Regions from separate parts of the Homo sapiens genome. Here all the other regions are linked to region 5. Evidence: promoter capture Hi-C in 16 types of primary human blood cells and fetal thymus (Javierre and others, 2016). All regions are on one chromosome and are shown on one strand. The core of a region is centred on a gene start or on the middle of the fragment in contact, and the rest is flanking DNA. Distances in the headings are between cores, read along the strand shown. Region 1 overlaps LOC105369422 (a long non-coding RNA gene). Region 2 overlaps SYTL2 (synaptotagmin like 2). Region 3 has its middle 9.7 kb from the start of CREBZF. Region 4 overlaps SYTL2 (synaptotagmin like 2). Region 5 holds the start of HIKESHI (heat shock protein nuclear import factor hikeshi). Region 6 has its middle 4.4 kb from the start of TMEM126A. Region 7 overlaps PRSS23-AS1 (PRSS23 antisense RNA 1).

The links. The method cuts DNA at HindIII sites, captures the fragments that hold promoters and counts their contacts. A CHiCAGO score of 5 or more calls a contact.
Region 1: a fragment that was not itself captured here is called in contact with the fragment with the promoter of HIKESHI in region 5 in 1 of 17 cell types (naive CD4 T cells); the score reaches 5.8 in naive CD4 T cells.
Region 2: a contact is called between a fragment that was not itself captured here and the fragment with the promoter of HIKESHI in region 5, in 5 of 17 cell types (non-activated CD4 T cells, total CD4 T cells, naive CD4 T cells and 2 more). The highest score is 8.3, in non-activated CD4 T cells.
Region 3: a fragment that was not itself captured here is called in contact with the fragment with the promoter of HIKESHI in region 5 in 12 of 17 cell types (total CD4 T cells, activated CD4 T cells, naive CD8 T cells and 9 more); the score reaches 12.5 in total CD4 T cells.
Region 4: a contact is called between a fragment that was not itself captured here and the fragment with the promoter of HIKESHI in region 5, in 3 of 17 cell types (activated CD4 T cells, naive CD8 T cells and non-activated CD4 T cells). The highest score is 6.6, in activated CD4 T cells.
Region 6: a fragment that was not itself captured here is called in contact with the fragment with the promoter of HIKESHI in region 5 in 15 of 17 cell types (non-activated CD4 T cells, naive CD4 T cells, naive CD8 T cells and 12 more); the score reaches 33.9 in non-activated CD4 T cells.
Region 7: a fragment that was not itself captured here is called in contact with the fragment with the promoter of HIKESHI in region 5 in 1 of 17 cell types (endothelial precursors); the score reaches 6.1 in endothelial precursors.

What each region holds. Positions count from the first base shown.
Region 1 is chr11:87,033,697-87,036,564 of GRCh38, reverse strand. All of the region lies in intron 1 of LOC105369422 (a long non-coding RNA gene), which reads left to right. Among named protein-coding and RNA genes, the nearest start is that of TMEM135, 2.8 kb to the left of the region's middle. The HindIII fragment of the contact is 2,330 bases long and covers 405-2,734 here.
Region 2 is chr11:85,700,026-85,702,726 of GRCh38, reverse strand. It overlaps SYTL2 (synaptotagmin like 2), which reads left to right. Exons shown (of 20, transcript NM_206927.4): 17 at 2,134-2,212. Among named protein-coding and RNA genes, the nearest start is that of CCDC89, 15 kb to the right of the region's middle. The HindIII fragment of the contact is 3,118 bases long and covers 1-2,701 here.
Region 3 is chr11:85,673,501-85,676,200 of GRCh38, reverse strand. It overlaps a transcript of CREBZF not described here. Among named protein-coding and RNA genes, the nearest start is that of CREBZF, 9.7 kb to the right of the region's middle. The HindIII fragment of the contact is 614 bases long and covers 971-1,584 here.
Region 4 is chr11:85,719,708-85,722,463 of GRCh38, reverse strand. SYTL2 (synaptotagmin like 2) reads left to right here. Exons shown (of 20, transcript NM_206927.4): 9 at 1,505-1,606. Among named protein-coding and RNA genes, the nearest start is that of CCDC89, 35 kb to the right of the region's middle. The HindIII fragment of the contact is 782 bases long and covers 868-1,649 here.
Region 5 is chr11:86,300,799-86,303,498 of GRCh38, reverse strand. It overlaps HIKESHI (heat shock protein nuclear import factor hikeshi), which reads right to left and starts at 1,259. Exons shown (of 5, transcript NM_016401.4): 1 at 1,021-1,259. The coding sequence starts at 1,050. The HindIII fragment of the contact is 4,753 bases long and covers 498-2,700 here.
Region 6 is chr11:85,642,221-85,644,920 of GRCh38, reverse strand. No RefSeq gene overlaps it. Among named protein-coding and RNA genes, the nearest start is that of TMEM126A, 4.4 kb to the left of the region's middle. The HindIII fragment of the contact is 8,633 bases long and covers 1-2,700 here.
Region 7 is chr11:86,917,949-86,920,648 of GRCh38, reverse strand. All of the region lies in intron 2 of PRSS23-AS1 (PRSS23 antisense RNA 1), which reads left to right. It also overlaps a transcript of PRSS23 not described here. Among named protein-coding and RNA genes, the nearest start is that of PRSS23-AS1, 19 kb to the left of the region's middle. The HindIII fragment of the contact is 2,237 bases long and covers 181-2,417 here.

The DNA.
Region 1 (2,868 bases), core at 320-2,819, 730 kb before region 5:
GAGGCCGGGCGCGGTGGCTCACACCTGTAATCCTAGTACTTTGAGAGGCTGAGGCGGGTGGATCACTTGAGGTCAGGAGTTTGAGACCAGCCTGGCCAACATGGTGAAACCCTGTCTCTACTAAAAATACAAAAATTTGCCAGAAATGGTGACACGCTCCTGTAATCGTAGCTACTCAGGGACTGAGGCAGGAGAATCGCTTGAACTCAGGAGGCAGAGGTTGCAGTGGGCCAAGATCACACCACTGTTGCCTTGGCAACAGAGAGAGACTCTATCTCAAAAAAAAAAAAAAAAAAAAAACGGGGGGGCGGGGGCGGGGAGAAAAGGGCATACTTCCTGTTTTTAAAAAAACTTCCCAGAAGATCCATACAAACTACTACAACTTACGTTCCTTGGACAAAGCTTAATCACATGGCCACACTTCATTGCAAGAGAGGATGGTGAATACAATCTTTTTTAATTAATGGGACAAATGCCCAGCTAACATTTGAGGTTTTATTACTGAGCAAAATGGAAAAAACAGATATTAGAGGCAACTAGCAGTGTCTGCCATAGTTCTATGTCTCTGGCTACCCAAATATCCGGGCACACCATTCTTTCTACAGATAGACATACCTTCCCTTTTCCAAGGGAGACAACCTAAAATTCCATGCAGTTGCTGAATCCTAGCCAAAGTCCAGAATATTCCTCAGGACCAGATGCAGATCTCATGATAAAGTTATCATCCGCCTCAACACATCCAATATACAATGGTAGAATAGGAACAAGATAATCACAATTTTTTTCAAATCTCCAATTCAGAAACTAAGAAGATCAAAAACACAGCATAAACTTATCCAAAAAATTACAGAAATAGCAGTGCAGGCTTATTTTTTTTCAATAATCCATTCCTGAATATCTGTGATCCTTTCACAAGAAAATGCTGAATAGGAACTTAGTTTTAAATGGGAAAAAATAAAATGCATTACATATCAACCAAAAAATTCTTAACAAGTATTTAAAACATAGTATCAAATATTAACAAAAAATGATCATGTTAAGATGTACAATACTATACAAATAACATCTTATTCACCAAACAATTAATACGAGCTGGGCACGGTGGCTGATACCTATAATCCCAACACTTTGGGAGGCTGAGCTTGGTGGATCACCTGAGGTCATAAGTTCAAGACCAGCCTGGCCTATGGTGAAACTCCATCTCTACTAAAAATACAAAAAGTAGCCAGACATGGTGGTGGACACCTGTAATCCCAGCTACTCAGGAGGCTGAGGCAGGAGAATCACTTGAACCTGGGAGGCGGAGGTTGCAGTGAGCCGAGATGGTGCCACTACACTCCAGCCTGGGCAACAGAACAAGACTCCGTCTCAAAAAAAAAAAAATTTTTAATATGATTGTTAACTCTCAGTTGCTTCTGAATGTAATAGCACAATATAGTTTTCATGCCTGATAATAAACAATATGTTTACTATGTGGCCCAGCAATTACACATTAATAAATAAGGAAATTTTAAAATTACAATTAAAACCAGGTGGTTTCTTTTAGTTAACTGTTTTTTGTTTGTTTTGAGACATGGTCTCACTCTGCTACCCAGGCTGAAGTGCAGTGGCGCAATCACAGCTCACAGCAGCCTATATCCCCTGGGCTCAGGAGATCCTCCTGCCTCAGCCTCCTGAGTAGCTGGGACCACAGGTACGCCACCACACCTGGCTAATGTTTTTAAATTATTTGTAGGGTCTCCCTGTGTTACCCAGACTGCTCTTGAACTCCTGGGCTCAAGCTGTCCACCCACCTCAGCCTCCCAAACTGCTGGGATTACAGGTGTGCACCAACACACCTGGTCCTAATTAACTGTTAAATGGAGACTTGAAGCATAAAGAAATTTGAGAAAAAGGGGATGGTGCCAAAGGGGACAATGCTGATGAGCTGGGTGGCAAAGGGGTGATTTCAGGGAAACTCCCAAGTTCAAAAGAAAGGATACTCTATCTTTTCTAGTGCTGCTATGGAGATTCCAAAACAGGAAGGCATTGATAAATCCTCAGGGGAGATGATCTGTGCTTTAGGATGCAAAAAAAATTGCAAAATGGAGCAGTATGCAGTTAAACCAGTAGCTTACATTTGTAAATTTCTTTATATGGTATTATAAGATATAGCAGGCTGTTTTTTAAAAGAAAGCCTTCTCTTCATGCCACCATTAAGTTTAAAGATAATGTTAAACATTGCATCTGCATGGGTCATTTATTCTTTTAGGTTGGCTATGACAGTGGCTTGATTGGATACTTTCTGGGGGCTTCATTGTTTCTTCTTTTTCATTAAAAAAACGCAGGGAGGGCTTTAGGGTTCATCAACAAGGTGAAGCAAAGAGTTTCTCCAAAGAAGGTGCACAGTGGATGAAGAAAACTAATCTGGCAATTTATGATGGAATTCAAAGGCTTTGAAGAAACGCCAAGATGAAAATTGTTGCCCCTTTCTTTGTGATGGAAGAATGAAAAAAAAAAAAAAAACACAAAGTTGTTGCTCTTGTAGGATTCTAGTTTTGAAGATGTCAACGAAAAAGAATGGAAGAGCTCTTAAGATCTAATGCAGAGGATTTAACGACACTAATCTAGTTTAGATCTACATGCAGTCATTGTAGAAATAATTATCAGGCACAAGTACAATGGCAAAGTACGGCAAACTCGAAGTATGACACTGTAGTAGCTCTTGATTCCAGCAACAGTCAGTAACCAAGCTTTTCACAAAGCTACATATGATTCTGATTTTCTTTTCTTTTCTTTTCTTTTGAGACGGAGTCTTGCTGTGTCACCCAAGCTGGAGTGCAATGGGACGATCTCGGCTCACTGCAAACTCCGCCTCCTGGGCTCAAG
Region 2 (2,701 bases), core at 50-2,549, 600 kb after region 5:
ATAATTGGGGAGGATTTACTTTTGCTTCTGATACAGCAGGCACAGACCACCTTCATTTAATCTGGGAATAAACTGACTTTGAAGCACAAGCCCAGTTTTCATGTGATCTGGTCTAGTTTTTGTTTGCTTATATTCCTAGGCTAAGGCCCTTCAGAGGTTCCAACTGAAAGCCATGGGAAATAGTTCTCAAAATCAGCATGCATCTGATTCACCTGAAGGACTTATTAAATCACAGATTCTGGGGCTGGGTGCGGTGGCTCTCAGCTTTAATCCCAGCACTTTGGGAGGCTGAGGTGTGGATTGCTTGAGTCCAGGAGTTGGATGGAGACAAGCCTGAGGAACGTGGCAAAACCCTGCCTTTGCAAAGAAATTAACCAGGCTTGGTGGCATGCACCTATAGCCCCAGCTACTCAAGAGGCTGAAATGGGAGGATCACTTGAACCCAGGAGGTGGTGGTTGCAATGAACTGAGATCACGCCATTGCACTCCAGTGTGGGCAACAAAGCGAGACCCTGTCTCAAAAAAAAAAAAAAAATAGACCCACTAGATTCTGAGCCCTATTCCCAAGGTTTACGGGCCCAAGAATATACATTTTTAACAGGTTCCCTGTCAATGCAGCTGACCTAGAAACGGTACTTTGAAAACCACTGGTCTAGAGTGTTTTTCCAGTGCCATTCCTTCTTGACAGGCCGTGGGCTCCAAGTTTTGTCTCCCCAGCCTCATGAAACTGCTAAAAGTCCTGCTTACCTTTTCAGTCTCATTCTGTTAGGCTTTTTATGTGCTCAGTTTGGCACTACTTAAATGTCTCAAAGTGAAAAGCAGAGAAGAATGTCAGACTCTAAGATCTTGTTCATTTGAGTCCTGTCTGTGTTAATAATTCTTTAGCACTTTCAAACTGATATTTAAAATCCCACCTTTTAAATTGTTATTAGTTTAGGGGTTGATGTGATCCAAGCTAGTCCATCATAGTAGGAAGTGATAAATATAAATAACTAATACAAACCATAACTTAGTGTCTACACAACAGTGGAACTGTTTTAGTTCCACTAAAGAAATGGTTCTCAAATGTTATATCAAAATCACTTGAAGCACTTATTTCTAGCCCTACCCAAGACCTGAACTCCTCAGAAGATATCAAAAGCATCTCATTTTTAACTGGCTACCATTACGTTTCTGATACATACCCATATTTTGAAAATAAAGCTCTAAAGAGCCAGAATTTGAAAGTAAAAAACTATCTTATGCAGGTTTCTTATACAGGTTTAGCATCCCTAATTCAAAAATTTCAAATCCATAATGCTCCAAAATCTGAAACTTTTTGAGTGCCGATATGATGCCGTAAGTGGAAAATTCCACACCTGCTTCATGTGATGGGTTGCATAAAGTTATTAAAAATGTTATATAAAATTACCTTCAGGCTATGTGTAGAAGATGTATATGAAACATAAATGAATTTTGTGTTTAGACTTGGGTCCCATCCCTAAGATATCTCATTACGTATATGCAAATATTACGAATTTCAAAAAACAAATCCGAAATCTGAAACTTTTCTGATCCCAAGCATTTCAGATAAGGAATATTCAACGTGTACTTGAAAATAACAGATAGAAGTTTAAAAAATTATTGTTCAGTCTTTGTTATACTTACAGACTTCTATGCATTTGGCCTAAAATAATCAGATTAGTGCAGCTTTGAAAATGTAAGATATGGCCTTTCCCCCCTTACTTTCACACACTATCTCATACTCCTTCAAATAAAGGGAATACAAATAAATTGTTTTATATGCTGGCTGAATAGCTAACAAAATATTTGTGTTTTGATCAAAATTAAAGCATTCAAAGAAACCTCTCCCATCTCCAAGAAAGCCATTCTGGTTTCTTCACCATCTTTGAGACTAAAGGCCTTGAAATATTTTCTGGGTATCCTGCAAGATTTTTCAAGATATACAACCTAGTTTTCCCAGGTATTAAGGCAACAGTCTAGTTCTGATGCAGAGAGAAATTTTAATCCAGAGCACTCATGAGTGACACATGGTCCCAGAAATGGGACAGATATGGTTCTGTAATGAGACCTATACCAACAAACAGGATGAAAAGTTTGTCTCCCACCTGCTGACATTTCTTCACTTTTCAGACAGCACCAGTTGCCCTTGAAGCAGAAAACAGAGGTGAAATGAAACTAGCTCTCCAGTATGTCCCAGAGCCAGTCCCTGGTATGTAATGACTTTCTATTCAGATTTATGTCCTTTCCTTATCCCTCCCTTCTCACAGTATTTACTATGCGTTTTCAAAGGTGAGGCCCTAAAGAAACTTATCAAGTTAGTAACGTATAGACCAAATGAGTCTATTCACAGTTGTAAATAAGAAAATTCTTTTTTTGTTATTGTGGCAAAAAAAAAAAAAAAAGAAAACATAAAATCTACCATCTTCACCATTTTTAACTGTACAGCTTAGTAGTGCTAAGTATATTCACACTGTTGGGAAACAGATCTCCAGAACCTTTTCATCTTGCAAATCTGAACCTGTTTATCTATTAACCAACAATTTCCTTTTCCTCTACTACCAGCTTCTGGTAATCATCATTTTACTTTCTGTTTCTATAAGAAAGTTCTCATTTTTTTTTTTAGTTTAGTTTATAGTCATTAGGTTTCACCTCACTCTCCAAAAATTTGTATCTGCACAATGTGAATGGCCTGTATTCA
Region 3 (2,700 bases), core at 28-2,527, 630 kb after region 5:
GCTCCCTTTCCTCCACTGAAGCAGCAATTCTCAACTTGAGTGGCAGCAACTGTGAGGTTTGATTAGTTAGGACATACACTAGTAATTTCTCACTATTTCAGTTGGTTACAAATGATGGTAATTTTAAAATAAAATATATTCCAGATTAGTCCACAATAGTATAATTCTCATTCAGTTGCGTTCAGAAACGCTTTCTTGAGAAGGAGTTAGAGGAGTGGAAATATAATACAGCTAGCACACTGGGAATTGCACATTTCATGCAAATATGTATGTAGTGCTTGTAAACATAATCCAACAGTGCCCTAGACACGGTCAATCACCTGATTTCTTCAATTTTCATCCAGTCCTAATGTCCCCTCATGGTCTCACTACCCCTTACAAATTATACTTCATGGGTAGACAGGCAAACTAAAGTAAAATGAGCACCCTCGTCTCTGTACCACAGGCATACCTTGTTTTATTGCATTTCACTTTCTTCTGCTTCACGTATATGGCATTTTTTACAAATCGAAGGTTTGTGGCAACCATAAGTTGAGCATGTCTATCAGCACCATTTTTCCAACAGCATGTGTTCACTTTGTGTCTCTGTGGTTTGTAACTCACACTATTTCAGGCTTTTTCATTATTAATATCTCTGTCATGGTGATCTGTGATCATTGATCTTTCATACTACTATTGTAATTGTTTGGGGGTGCTATGAACAGCACCCATATAAGATGGCAAACTTCACTGATGAATGTTGTGTGTGTTCTGAGTGCCACTGACTGGCCATTCCCCAGTCTCTCTCCCTCTCCTTGGGTCTGCTTATTCCTGAGACACAACAATATTGTAATTAGGCCAATTAATAATCCTACAATGGCCTCTAAGTGTTCAAGTGAAAGAGTTATACATCTCTCACTTTAAGTCAAAAGCTAGAAATGATTAAACTTAGTGAGGATGGTGTGTTGAAAGCAGAGACAGGCTGAAAGCTTGGTCTTTTGCACCAGTTAGCCAAGTCGTGAATGCAGAGGAAATATTTTTGAGAAAAAAAATTTGAAGGAAATTATAAAGGGCCACTTCTGTAAACACATGAATGATAGGAAAATAAAACATCCTTATTGCTGATATGGAGAAAGTTTTAGTGATCTGGATAGAAGATCAAACCAGCCACAACATTCCTTTAAGCCGAAGCCAAACCCAGAGCAAGGCCCTAGCTGTTTTCAATTCTATGAAGGCTGAAAGAGGTGAGGAAACTGCAGAAGAAAAGCTGGAAGCTAGCAGAAGCTAGCAGAGGTTGGTTCATGAGGTTTGGGTATTCTGAAGGAGAGAGGAGAAGAAATGATTTGGAATTAGCAATGAGAAGTAAAAGCACCACAGCCAAGTTAGAGAGAAAAACCCATCTCTGTAACAAAGAAGGGCAAGGTGAAGCAGCAAGTGCTGATGGAGAAGCAGCAACAAGTTTTCCAGAAGATCCAGCTGAGATAATTGATGAAGGTAGCTACACTAAACAACAGATTTTCACTGTGGACAAAAAGGCCTTTTATTGGAAGAAGATGCCCTCTAAGGCTTTAGTAGTTAGAGAAGTCAATGCCTGGCATCAAAGCTTTAAAGGACAGGCTGACTCTCTTATTAGGGGCTAATGGGCTAATGCAGCTGGTGACTTTTAAGTTGAAGCCAGTGCTCATATTTACCCTTCCAAAAATCCTAGGGCTTTCAAGAATTATGCTAAATCTACTCTAACTGTGATCTATAAGTGGAATGACAAAGCCTGAATGACAGCATATCTATCTACAGTGTGGTTTACTGAATATTTTAAGCCCACTGTTGAGAACTGCTGCTCAGAAAAAAAGATTCCTTTCCAAATGTTACTGCTCATTGACAATGCAGTTAGTTACTCAAGAGCTGTAATTAAGATTTACAAGGAGATTAAAGTTTTTATGCCTGCTTACACAACATCCATTCTGCAAGCCATGAATCAAGGAGTTACTTCAACTTTGAAATCTTATTGTTTCAGAAATACATTAAGGCAAAGCTGCCATACACAGTGATTCCTCTGATCTATCTAAGCAAAATAAATTGAAAACCTGGAAAGGATTCACCATTCTAGATGCCATTGAGAACGTTTGTTTGGAAGTTTGGAAGAGGATTCCATCCTTTATGGATGACTTAGAAGGATTCAAGACTTTAGTGGAGGAAATAACTGCAGATGTGATAGAAGTAAGAAGAGAACTAGGATTAAAGTTGGAGCTGGAAGATGTGACTGAATTACTGCAGTCTCATGATATCACTTGAATGGATGAGGAATTTCTTCTTATGGATAAGCCAAGAAAAATGGATGGTTTCTTGGGATGGAATCTATTTCTGGTGAAGATGCTGTGAACATTGTTTGAATGACAACAAAGGATTTAGAATATTACATAAACTCAGTTGATAAAGCAGCCGCAGGGTTGGAGAGAATTGACTCCAATTCTGAAAGAAGTTCTCCCATAGGCAAAATGGTATCAAACAACATCACGTGCTATAGAGAAATCTTTCATGAAAGGAAGTGTCAGTTGATGCTGCAAACTTTACTGTCATATTTTAAGAAATGCCACAGTCACCCCAACCTTCAGCAACCACTACCTTAATGAGTCAGTAGTCATCAACATTGAGGCAAGACCCTCCACCAGCAAAAAGATTGTGACTCACTGAAGGCTCAGATGATGGTTAGCATTTTTAGCA
Region 4 (2,756 bases), core at 9-2,508, 580 kb after region 5:
GGTGGCTCACGCCTGTAATCCCAGCACTTTGGGAGGCCAAGGCGGGCAGATCATGAGGTGAGGATATCGAGACCATCCTGGCTAACATGGTGAAACCCCATCTCTACTAAAAAATACAATAAAGTAGCCGGGCGTGGTGGTGGCTGTAGTCCCAGCTACTCGGGAGGCTGAGGCAGCAGAATGGTGTGAACCCTGAGGCGGAGCTTGCAGTGAGTCGAGATCACGCCACTGCACTCCAGCCTGGGCTACAGAGCAAGACTTCATCTCAAAAAAAAAAAAAAAAAAAAAAAAAATCACCTAAACAGAGCCCAGAGAAGACATTTTAGAATAACAAGCCAATTAAGAAGTATCAAATGGTATAGTCATGATTTTAATTTAGGTTTATATACTCTAACCTAAATTATTATTTTAAAGCAAACTGCAGTGGGGGTGGGGTGAAAAATGAAGAGAAACCTACTATAAGGGTACTGTAATTTTGGGGAGCAAGCTAACACATTTGACTTGCGGCTGAGCTCTTAACTAAGCAATACCTCAGTATGCTCCTTTGGGAAAAATTAAAGGTTCAGTAGTCAAATACTTTTGGAAATGCTGGGCCATTATGCACAGAGAAGGTCCGCAGTAAGGAACATTTTAAATTTGAACAGAGAACATCCAAATCTAATTCATCTTAGAATCCATTTGCTATGGAATGTACTAGGCAGAACTGGAATGTATTTCAGGAAATTATTGTCTAGAGAAGTGGTTCTTAAATTAATTGATTCCTTAATCGAATCACTCATTGATTCAGCAAATATTTTGAAGTGTTTATTTCCAGCCACTGTTCTAGGCACTGAGAATACAGCAGTAATAAATGTCAGTACTTAAGCTTATTCATGATGCAGCCATTCCTTTTATAAAATAACGGCATTAGTAAATGATAGAGGCCTCCCTCCCGCAACTTTAAAATGCCTTACTAAAATAAAAATTTGACTATCCCATGTTATTTCCCAACATTTCATTGGAAATTATACTAGATCATGAAACCCAGAAAGTCTACAACCTTTGATCTGGAGAATGCACTCATATGTGTACCCAATTATACACAGATGTTAAACATCTGAATCCTGCCTTCCACGGTTTTGAATTAATTTTATTAATGCTCCTAGAAGTATTTCATGGCTGTCTTCAAAAGCTAGAATGTTAAATGGGAAGAGTCAATGTCTGGCATAGGACAAATCATATGTCTAAAATAGGAGTAAACAACTAAGAGATCACATTTCTATTAATGTGGTAATCTTGTTTTTGTAGGGTTTACGTTTGCAAATATTTCTTGACCAGGAAAATTATGTTTAAGAGCATATTAATAGTGGAGAAATTTTATTTTCTTCTGTGAAATAAGTGCTTCTTAAAGTAGAAACTCATAGCATAATGTCTCTTTTCAGCCTACCATTTCTATGTCCATATGTTAGAGGATTTTTTTTTTTTTTGGTATTGTGCAGTGTTCATCGATTTTGTTTTATAACAGGTTCAGAAGAAGAACCCAGTCCTGTTTTGAAAACTTTGGAAAGGAGTGCCGCTAGGAAAATGCCTTCCAAAAGTCTAGAAGACATTTCATCAGATTCATCAAGTGAGAATAAAGTTCGCCTCACTGTTCATGCCCCATCTAAGCTTAAAAATGCCTATGTGCTCTCCTGTAGCCTCACTGCGTGCTGTTGTGCACTGCACCCTCTAATGGGGGCAGTTAACAGATGAAAATAACCTCTCCAAAGTGCGCTGAAGAGGCTCAACCTAAAGTGGCTGGAACTTTGCTTATAAAATAATATATTACATTTGGTTACTAAAACACTAGGTTTCCTTTAATTGAAGAATCCCAGTTTGAGTGTTTCTCAAGTACAGTGAGTTTCAAAGGATAGTGGTAGCTAGTAGTATTAGTGAAAATAGTCATAACTAGCATTTATTGAATATTATTTGCCAAAACGTGCCTAACAATTTTACATGTATTATCTCATTTAACCAGCACAAGCAACCCTATGAGAGGTGAATTATTGTTATCCAAATTTAAAGATGAGGAAAATGAAGCTCAGAAATGTGAAATGACCTTTTTAGTATTACACGGAAGATCTGGGACTCAAAATTAACAGGCTATTATCAAGAACATTTATGAAGGGACCACATTATATATGACAGCGTTGGATGTCCAGTGAATTTTGCATGATACGGAGTTGAATTAGTCCCTGGCTTCAAGGACTTTCCTTTCTCTTTTATCCCTTCTATTCTGTTCACACTTTTCTTCTAGATACTGGAACTATAAGCCCAAAACTACTTAACATGAAAGACTTTAGGTACACGATTCCCCACTGGCAGCTGCTTTAATGGTGAAGGATTTCTTGAGTACTAGCAGAAAACATAATATATAAAGAGAGTTGTGTGCTAGACAAATGGACTAAGAAACCATGATTTCTTGGGGTTTTGTTCTTGCTATTTTCAAGCTAAAATGCACCCCTGGGATTGCAGATGGTCATAAGAAAAATTATCAAGTGAAAAGTTAACCACTGCCAAACTCATATGATTGAAAATTGGCCATTGTTATGTTTAGAATATTTTTTGTGCATTTGCAATTAAGAATAAAAAGTCAGAATTTAAAAATGAAAAAAAGAAAAGAAAAAGCCACTTCACCAAACATTTCCTAAAATTCACAGATTCCCAGGGGTTTGAAGACAGTATTCCCAATTTGGAATGTAGTCCTGACTATCCCAAGGATCTTGGAATCTCAGGGT
Region 5 (2,700 bases), core at 10-2,509:
CCTTTTTCCCTATTAAGAGCAGGGCAAAATTATCTCACCAGGATTATGAATTACCACCATCACCACAGGGGTCTCCCAGTCATTCAAGAGACAAACTTTATGAGGCTAGTCATCTCCAACTTATCTTTCTGGCTTCTTAGAACTGTATATGTACAGAATACAATACATTATCAAAACTTGATGGGAAAAAAAGACAATTCAGCAAAGGGACTGCAACATTTTAAAAAGCCAGGAGAAAAAAGAAGGAAAAATACTTCTAGGGGAAAGGAATCAGGCCTGAAAATTGATGTCTGTGTGGTTTCTAAGGAAACAAACAAGATTCACCTTCCAGATTATTCCTAAAGAATTCCAGGTGCTGTTCTCATTTACTCTAACAATTTGGCAAGGTAAGTTATCTATTTTGACCCATAAGGAAACACACTACTCGCATCCTTCTCTGGTTATCTCAGATACGGCTCACACGTTAAGTTTCAGCCAACTTCCAATTAAATTAAGCTTATTTTTACTCGGGTTCTTCCAAAGGGACCCAAAAGATATACATTCCCTGAGCACCTTAATCTTTGAAAAACAGTTTGCTATAGACCAAATTCAATCCCAAATTCACCTCTACCTCAAGTTAATAAAGAAGGTATTTATACTGGCGATTGAACTTAGTTCTGTAACTGCAAAATGTCAAAGATAAAGACCATCTCACGAGTTATGAGGATTAAGTTCAAAGTGCCAAATAAGCGCCACACATAAGGCTGAGTGACCAAAGGCGTGCATTGCACTTAGCCCAGTACTTGGTACAAAATGCACACTTAATAAATGCCAACTTATACTGTGACTACTATTCGAAAGAATCTGAATAGAGCTGGGCAAAGGAGAGCACCCAGCTTCCCACGCTCCATCCTCACATACCCACCCAAAATATAATAAGTGGGCTTCCCCGCATCCCTAGCGCCTGCGCACCCTCCCTGCCGTAGGGCTTCGCCCTCGGTATCCTGACCCCTTCCTGATATCACCCGGTCCCATCCTCACCAGCCTCCCCGCCACCAAGCAGCCAAACATGGCGACGGCAGCTCCGTTCAGCCGGCAGTGACCTGAAGCCGGCGACTAGGAGTCCTGGGGCTACTGCCCTAGTCGAGACTAAGAACCTTCCAGAATTTGCGGGAGGGTGTCTGCCCCTCCACTACATAGTGACTGGGCCAGCGGCAAGAATGCCTCTGCCCCCGCGAACTCTGACCTTCTCTTCCTAAGCAGCCCACTGCTCAGGCAACAAGTACTTCCGGGGCTTACACCCGGTTTTCCCCACTAAGGAAGAAAGGCGGGCCAGCGCCAGTACAAGACTACAAGTCCCAGAACAAGTCCCAGAGGGCACCGCGCCAGTTTCCGGGAAGGTAAGCCTGGAGGCTTTGCACACTGGGATCGGTAGTCCGGGTGTTTTATAGCCACAAAATCTGTGGATCCTTCATTTCCATGTACAATCCTGGGAAGAGATGCTTCTAACGTTTCTGTGACATCTGAGAGATTAACGGTGCACTTTTACAATAATCACGTCACTAGATCTTTACAAAAACCCTATGAGGTAAGTATTATAATCCAAATTTTATAGGAGTGATCAGCCTCAAATCTTTACACAGCAGTAAATGTTGGAGGCTGAATTCAAGTCCTAATCCAAATCCGGGTTTCTTTCTGCTACACAGTGTCTCAGAAGTATTAATCTTTAACCAATTGTTTTGTACTTGTCTACAATTTATAGTAGTTCTTTCCAGCTTCACTTAGTTCTCCCATTCATTTGCTGTACAATTGTGGACGAGTTGTAGATGTCTTTGTGCTTCAGTGCCCCTCCTTTGCAAAAGACAAATAATGAGCCTATTGCCTAGGGTTGCTGTGAGGATTAAATGAGCTAATATGTATAAAACACTTAAAACAGTGCTTGGCTGTGCTTAATTAGTGGGAGTTTTATTGTAAAAATGTCTATTTTTTTTCTATGTGGATCTGCAGAAAAGTTTCATAGGAAATACAAAACAATAGCCAAAAAAAAAAAAAAAAATACTGGCATTAAGTACCGATTGCCACCAATACTTATTCTCCCTTTCACAGCTCCAATTCCTTTTCTTCTTGAATAGGATAGTAAAGGGTCTCTGTCCAATTTGAAATATCTGAGCTTGGCCACCAGCCGTAAAGCAGGTCTGTCTTCCCAGTTCTCAGTTTATATATGGGGGATCAGTGTTTGGAACAGTCCTCTGGCCTCCACTGTGGATCCCTAAACTGATCACCTATCTTATCACCGATACTCCTTTGAGATAGCTGTGCCAAAGGTGAAGAGGTAGGAAAGGATCTACCAATGTTTCCAACTTACTATCTAAAAAGTCCTAGAACCTTCAGAATAAAAAGGCCATTCATATGAAGACCACTTCATAAATTAAGGCACCCACACTACCTGGGTTCAGAGCCCATCTCTGCCATTTATTAGTTACATAATCTCAGGCAAGTTAACCTAACACTCCCATACCTCCTTTTCCCCATCTTTAAAATGAAGTAATAGTAGTATCTACCTCATAAAGTTGTTTTGAGGGTTCTTACACGTAAAGTACTCAATAGTGGCCAGAATGTAGCTTACTCAATAAATGTTAATATTTAGCATTATTGCCTTTCCTAACTAATTTTCCATGTCTTCTTCATACCCACCTTGTGCACTAGCCATACTTTTGAATT
Region 6 (2,700 bases), core at 101-2,600, 660 kb after region 5:
ATACAATTCTTGAAAGATGGGAAAAATAGTGGGTAAGATCCACATTTATCCAGCTTTTTTTCATGAGGGCATTAGTCTGTGCAGTACATGGGGAATATCGAGTGTCAGTATAAAGCAGCATTCTTCCCATTCTAAAACACTCAGAAGTTGAAATTTGGAAATGCCAGATCAACTGAAAATTGGGGCAGGAACCTTGAAAAGGGAACCCCAAAATCTGTCTAAAAAATCCCCTCAAATTTTTGGCTGACATTATAACAGTACATGCATGTGGTAAGACCCAAAGAACCCAATGGACAGCAACAGTTGGAAGACTGGAAGAGATAAAGTGAAATTTCAGCAGTCATCTGATGCTGGGAAGACAGTGTATTTTTGAATATTTAAATTCAAATATCGGAAATTTAAATATTTCCAAGTTATACAGACCGGGTGAAAACTTTGGACATTCCACTGAGCAGCATCTTAGAATTAATGACTACATCCAATGACTAAGGGTTATGCCCTAGAATCAAGGGCAAAATCAACCAAATCAATATTTTTTTAAAAAAATCAAATTAAGCAAAAAGGAAATCAAAGAGGAAGGAATAATAAAGGTAAGAGTGGAAATAAATGAAAGGGAAAAGACAAAAACAATAGAGAAAAGACCAACTGTGATTCTTTGAAAATATTAATAAAATCAATAAGCCCTAATAAGACTAATCAAAAGAAAAAGAGACCAAACAACTAAATCTTTTTGGACTGAAAGAAGGGACATTAATACAGATTCTACACACATTAACAGGATAAGGAGAGGATATTATGAACAACTTTAACCCACTGTGTTCGACAATTTAGACAAAATGGACAAATTGCTTGGTCTTATTGTTAATTGCTTATCTGGAGAGTTACAATTTATTTTTTCTTTTACATTTTATAACCTACAACCTTGCTAAATCAAATAGGATTTTAAAAATTACATAGATAATTTTATTTCTTCTTTTCCAATCTGGCTAGACTCTCCCATACAATGTTGGCTAGAAGCAATAAAGCAGACATTCTTGCATTTTCCCTGATCTTAGGGGGAAGTCATTCAGTTTCCCACCATCATCATGTTAATTATAGGTTTTTTGGTAAATGCTCTTCAAAATCTTAAGGAAGTTCCCTTCTTTTCCTCATGCTGGGAGTTTTTATCAGGAACAGATGTTGGATTTTGTCAAATGCTTTTTCTGTATCTATTCAGATGATTGTTTTTTTTCCTTGTTTAGTCTGTTGATACAGTGAATTATATTGTGTAGGGGCTCCACGTTCCCCAGCCATCTTTCCGTGTCCTGACCAAAAATCACAGAGCGCCTTGACTGCTTTGTGACCTGGCCAGCTGCAGATTTTTCTTAGCAGGCTTGAATCCAAACCGAGACCTGAAACATTTCCAGGCACTGATAAAGGTATCTAGGTTGTTGCCCAAAACACTAAAATAAACTGGCCCTGGCCCTGAGCCAAATTCCTAAGCCCTCATATAAACTCCATATCCTAATCCCCTTGTTGTGAACTGCTAGCCTTTTCTCTTGCTGTTTGTGGTGAGGATTGCTGCAGTTCAGTCATATAAAATTTCCCCTAATAAATGCTTTGGACTGATGACCCTGGTGTTTAGTGCTTCTTTCTTTGAATCCCAACCAGCCCAGTCTCAGGATAACTCTGGACACTCCCTTGTGGAAACTCCCCTGCTGTCACTTTTGGGGTGACTCCTGCTGTGGGTTTGGTGGAACAAAACATTGAGTGATTTTTTTAAATGTTAAGTCAATTTTGCAATCCTGGAATAAGCCCCGCTTGGCCATGAGGTACTATTCTTTATATATATTTTTGTATTTGGTTTGCTAAAAGTTTGTCAAAAGTTTTTATATCAATGTTCATGAGGAGTATTAGGCTGTAGTTTCTTTCCTCAAAATGTTTTTATCTGGCTTTGATATCAGGATATTGCTGGACTTATTGAATGAGTTGGCAAGTGTTCCCATCTCTTCAATTTTTTTGGAGAGTTTGCATCATATTATTATTTCTTCCTTACATGTTTGGTAGACTTTACCAGTGAAGATTTCTGGATCTGAGTTTTCCTTGTAGGGAGGATTTAACTATAAATTCAATACTCATGGTAGATATATGGCTACCCTGATTATCTATTTCTTTTTGAGTGAACTTCACAAATCTTCACAAAACAAGATCAAATATTCATTTATTCATTTCACCTAAGTTCTCAAGTTTATTGGCTGAAATTGTTCAAAAATATTTTCTTGTTATATTTTAACATCTGTAGAATCTGTGGTGAAACATCTCTCTTGATATTGGTCACTTATGTCTTCCCTTCTTTATGCTAATTGTTTATTATTTTTGAAAATCTCAAATAACCACCTTTTGGTTTTATTGGTTCTTTTCTATTGGTTTCTGTTTTCTATTTCTTCCCCCCTCTGTTCTATATTGTTTCTTTCTTATTCTTATCTAGGATTTAAGTTGCTCCTCTTTTTCTCGTTTCTTAAAAACATACCTGAGGTAATTGATTTGAGATCTTTTTCCCCTCTAACATATGTGCTTATCATTACAAATTTCCAAGTGCTGCTTTAACTGTATCCATAGATTTTTAAATGTTCTGTATTATTTTAATTCAGTTCAAAAGAATTTCTAATTTCACTTTGCTTTCCTCTTTGGCCTGTGGATTATTTAGAAGTGTGTTAATTT
Region 7 (2,700 bases), core at 50-2,549, 620 kb before region 5:
GTTTATGTACCTATTCCCACTCTGTTCTCTCTTCCTGAAGAGTCTCCTCTGGCAAACTCCATTCTGTAAACGTCCGTATTTAAGTGTCCTGTTCTCTGTCAAACATTCTTCCCAGGCCTAGTATGATGTTTGTCCCCAGGCTTCCATGCCATTATGTGTACACATTATCTGCCATAAGCTTACCTTATTGCATGGCAATGGAAGTTTTTCCTCCTTCTCTCTTCTTCATTAGACAAGAACAGGGTCTTGAAAAGTAGAGACTGTGTCTTCTCAAGTTCGGACTACTGGCACAGGTAGGTGCTCAGAACTTGGCACCAGGAAGATGCTTATTAAATATTTGAAGAACAAATAAGTAAATGAATGAATAGACTAACTGAGTTTGAAGGCAGTGCTATGGCAGATTTTTCTTATTTTATGAATGGAAAAACTATGGCATAGAACAATTTGGAATCTGATAATTTTACAAATTCGTAGGAGTGCTGGAAAACAGTAAAATCTTCAGTCTTGCTCCTTGAGCTGTTGCCCAGGTCCCTCTCTGGGACTGCACTAGCAGCCCTAAAAAACACCTGGGGCTGATACCCTCACATTCACACCAAACCGCAGACCTCACCACAGAAGCACAGGCCTTCACGCTGGCGTCTGCAGTCTACTTGTAGTTTGATTTTAGCAACATTGGCCAAGTTGAGGCTGGGAAGCAGCTGGTGAACAAAGGGTGGATGCACTTTTCTGAATCTAGGGGGAGACCAGGTTAGAGCCATGCTAAGTGAAGCTGCTAGGGTAGGTGGGCCAGGCAGGGGAACAGGCAAAGATACCCTTGGCTCCCTTAAACTTGGGCTAGAAAAAACAAAGACATGGCTCAAGGAGAACCACAAGGTGTCACTGTTCATCCTCAGTTAAACAAACACTGATTTGGGCAGGGACTTGAGAAACACTGCAAAGAACTTTATTTTGCAGATGAAGAAACGGAGGCCCGGGGAGGTAACATGATTTGACTAAGATCACGTAACAACTTAATGGCAGAACAATTATGAGAAACCAAGTCTCTTAACTTTCAGACTGGCAGGACCACTTTCTCCCATTGCTCCTATGAGATGGCATTTTGAGATGAGGAGTAAGCCTTCTCTACAATCATTCACTCAAGACAATGGCTTTCAATTAGAAATAGAACAGAAAAAAAACAAGAGAGAGAGAAGAAAAGAATGAAAAAAGCGCAGCATTCACTCTCACATGTGCCTTATTCAAAGTGCTGGGCTAAGATGCCAGTGCCCACAACGAGAGAGTGGCCCACAGGGCCTCCGTCTGTGGCAGGCTTGAATACCCGAATAGAAAAGTATCAGGTAAAGGATTTCATTCTTTTTATGGCTCCAACTTAAAAAGAGTCTGGTTCCCAAGGAAAACAGGAAGCCAAGTTGCTCAGCAAAGAATTGGCTGAAACCTAAGTAGGACCCAGATAAAAACATTTGCTGGATGGAAGGATGTGGGCAAATTTCTGGGCCCCGCTGCTTGGGGATGGGAAGCTATGAGGCAGAAGACCCTTTGTGAAACAGTGACCCGTGCACCAGGCATTTTTGCGGATGTCTGGAAACTGCGAGGCAGTGGAGGAGTCATAAGTTAGTTGGTTTTTTAATTCCAACTAACTTTACTCCACCAAGTATCTCAGGAGATTTCGCCTATGCTCTTTGGCCTGACTCCCACTAGGCCCTTACTCCTTCCATGGTGGCTTCTACTGGAGCCTCTTTCTTAGTTCCCAGGTTATTAAAATAATAATAAATTCAAAGAGCTTTGTTGTTTTCTTAGGTAATATAATTAATATGCGCTCATTACAAAAATTCAGATACCAAGTAGCAGAATGAAGAAAATAAAAGACATCTGTAGTCTCTCCATTCAGAAATAACTGCTGTTAGCATAATGCTGTATACATTCAGGCTGTTGGCCTGTGGAACACCTGGTATATGTCCTCGGCCCTGGGTTTACAGCTGTAAAGCTGGCACACACTAATCTCAGCTCTCACAGAGCCTACATTCTAATTGTCTGGGAGAGACAGACAATAATATTTTGTAAAAAAGTAAAATATATAGGATGTCAGATTGTGGTAAATGCTATGAAGACAGAGAAGGGGATGGGGATTTTAATGGTGGTGAGGTGGCAATTTAAAAATAGGATATTCAGAAAGTGACATTTGAACAAAGATCTGAAGCAGATGTGGATATCTGGGAGAAGACTTCTTTCTTTCTTTCTGTACATAGACAATAATGCAATTATAACATAAACAATATATGAATACATCTTTGATTTAAAATCTTCAAATAATACAGAAATATATGGGAAACAAGGGAACAACCTTCTCACCACCCTCCTATTACCTTCTCCTCTCTCCCAATAAGCACTTTGGCAATGGTGTGTTCCCTGCCCAAGCTTCATCTCTGCATTTACATTCATTTCTGTATATACTGACACAATAGCTTTATTTTATTTCCTACGTAAATGAGCTCATCCTTTGTGAAGGTGATATCTTTTTATTTTCAGCAAAAAGAGTCGTCTTAACATTTTCTAAAATTCAAAGGTATGTGAGAGCTATAGGCCTCATTACTAAAAATGAAATAGCTAAATGTGATTGCTAAGTGTGGGTAAATGTTTTACTTCTTCCTTTGGGCTAATAATCTAGCATATACTGAATTCTATTGAAATAATTTGTTTCTG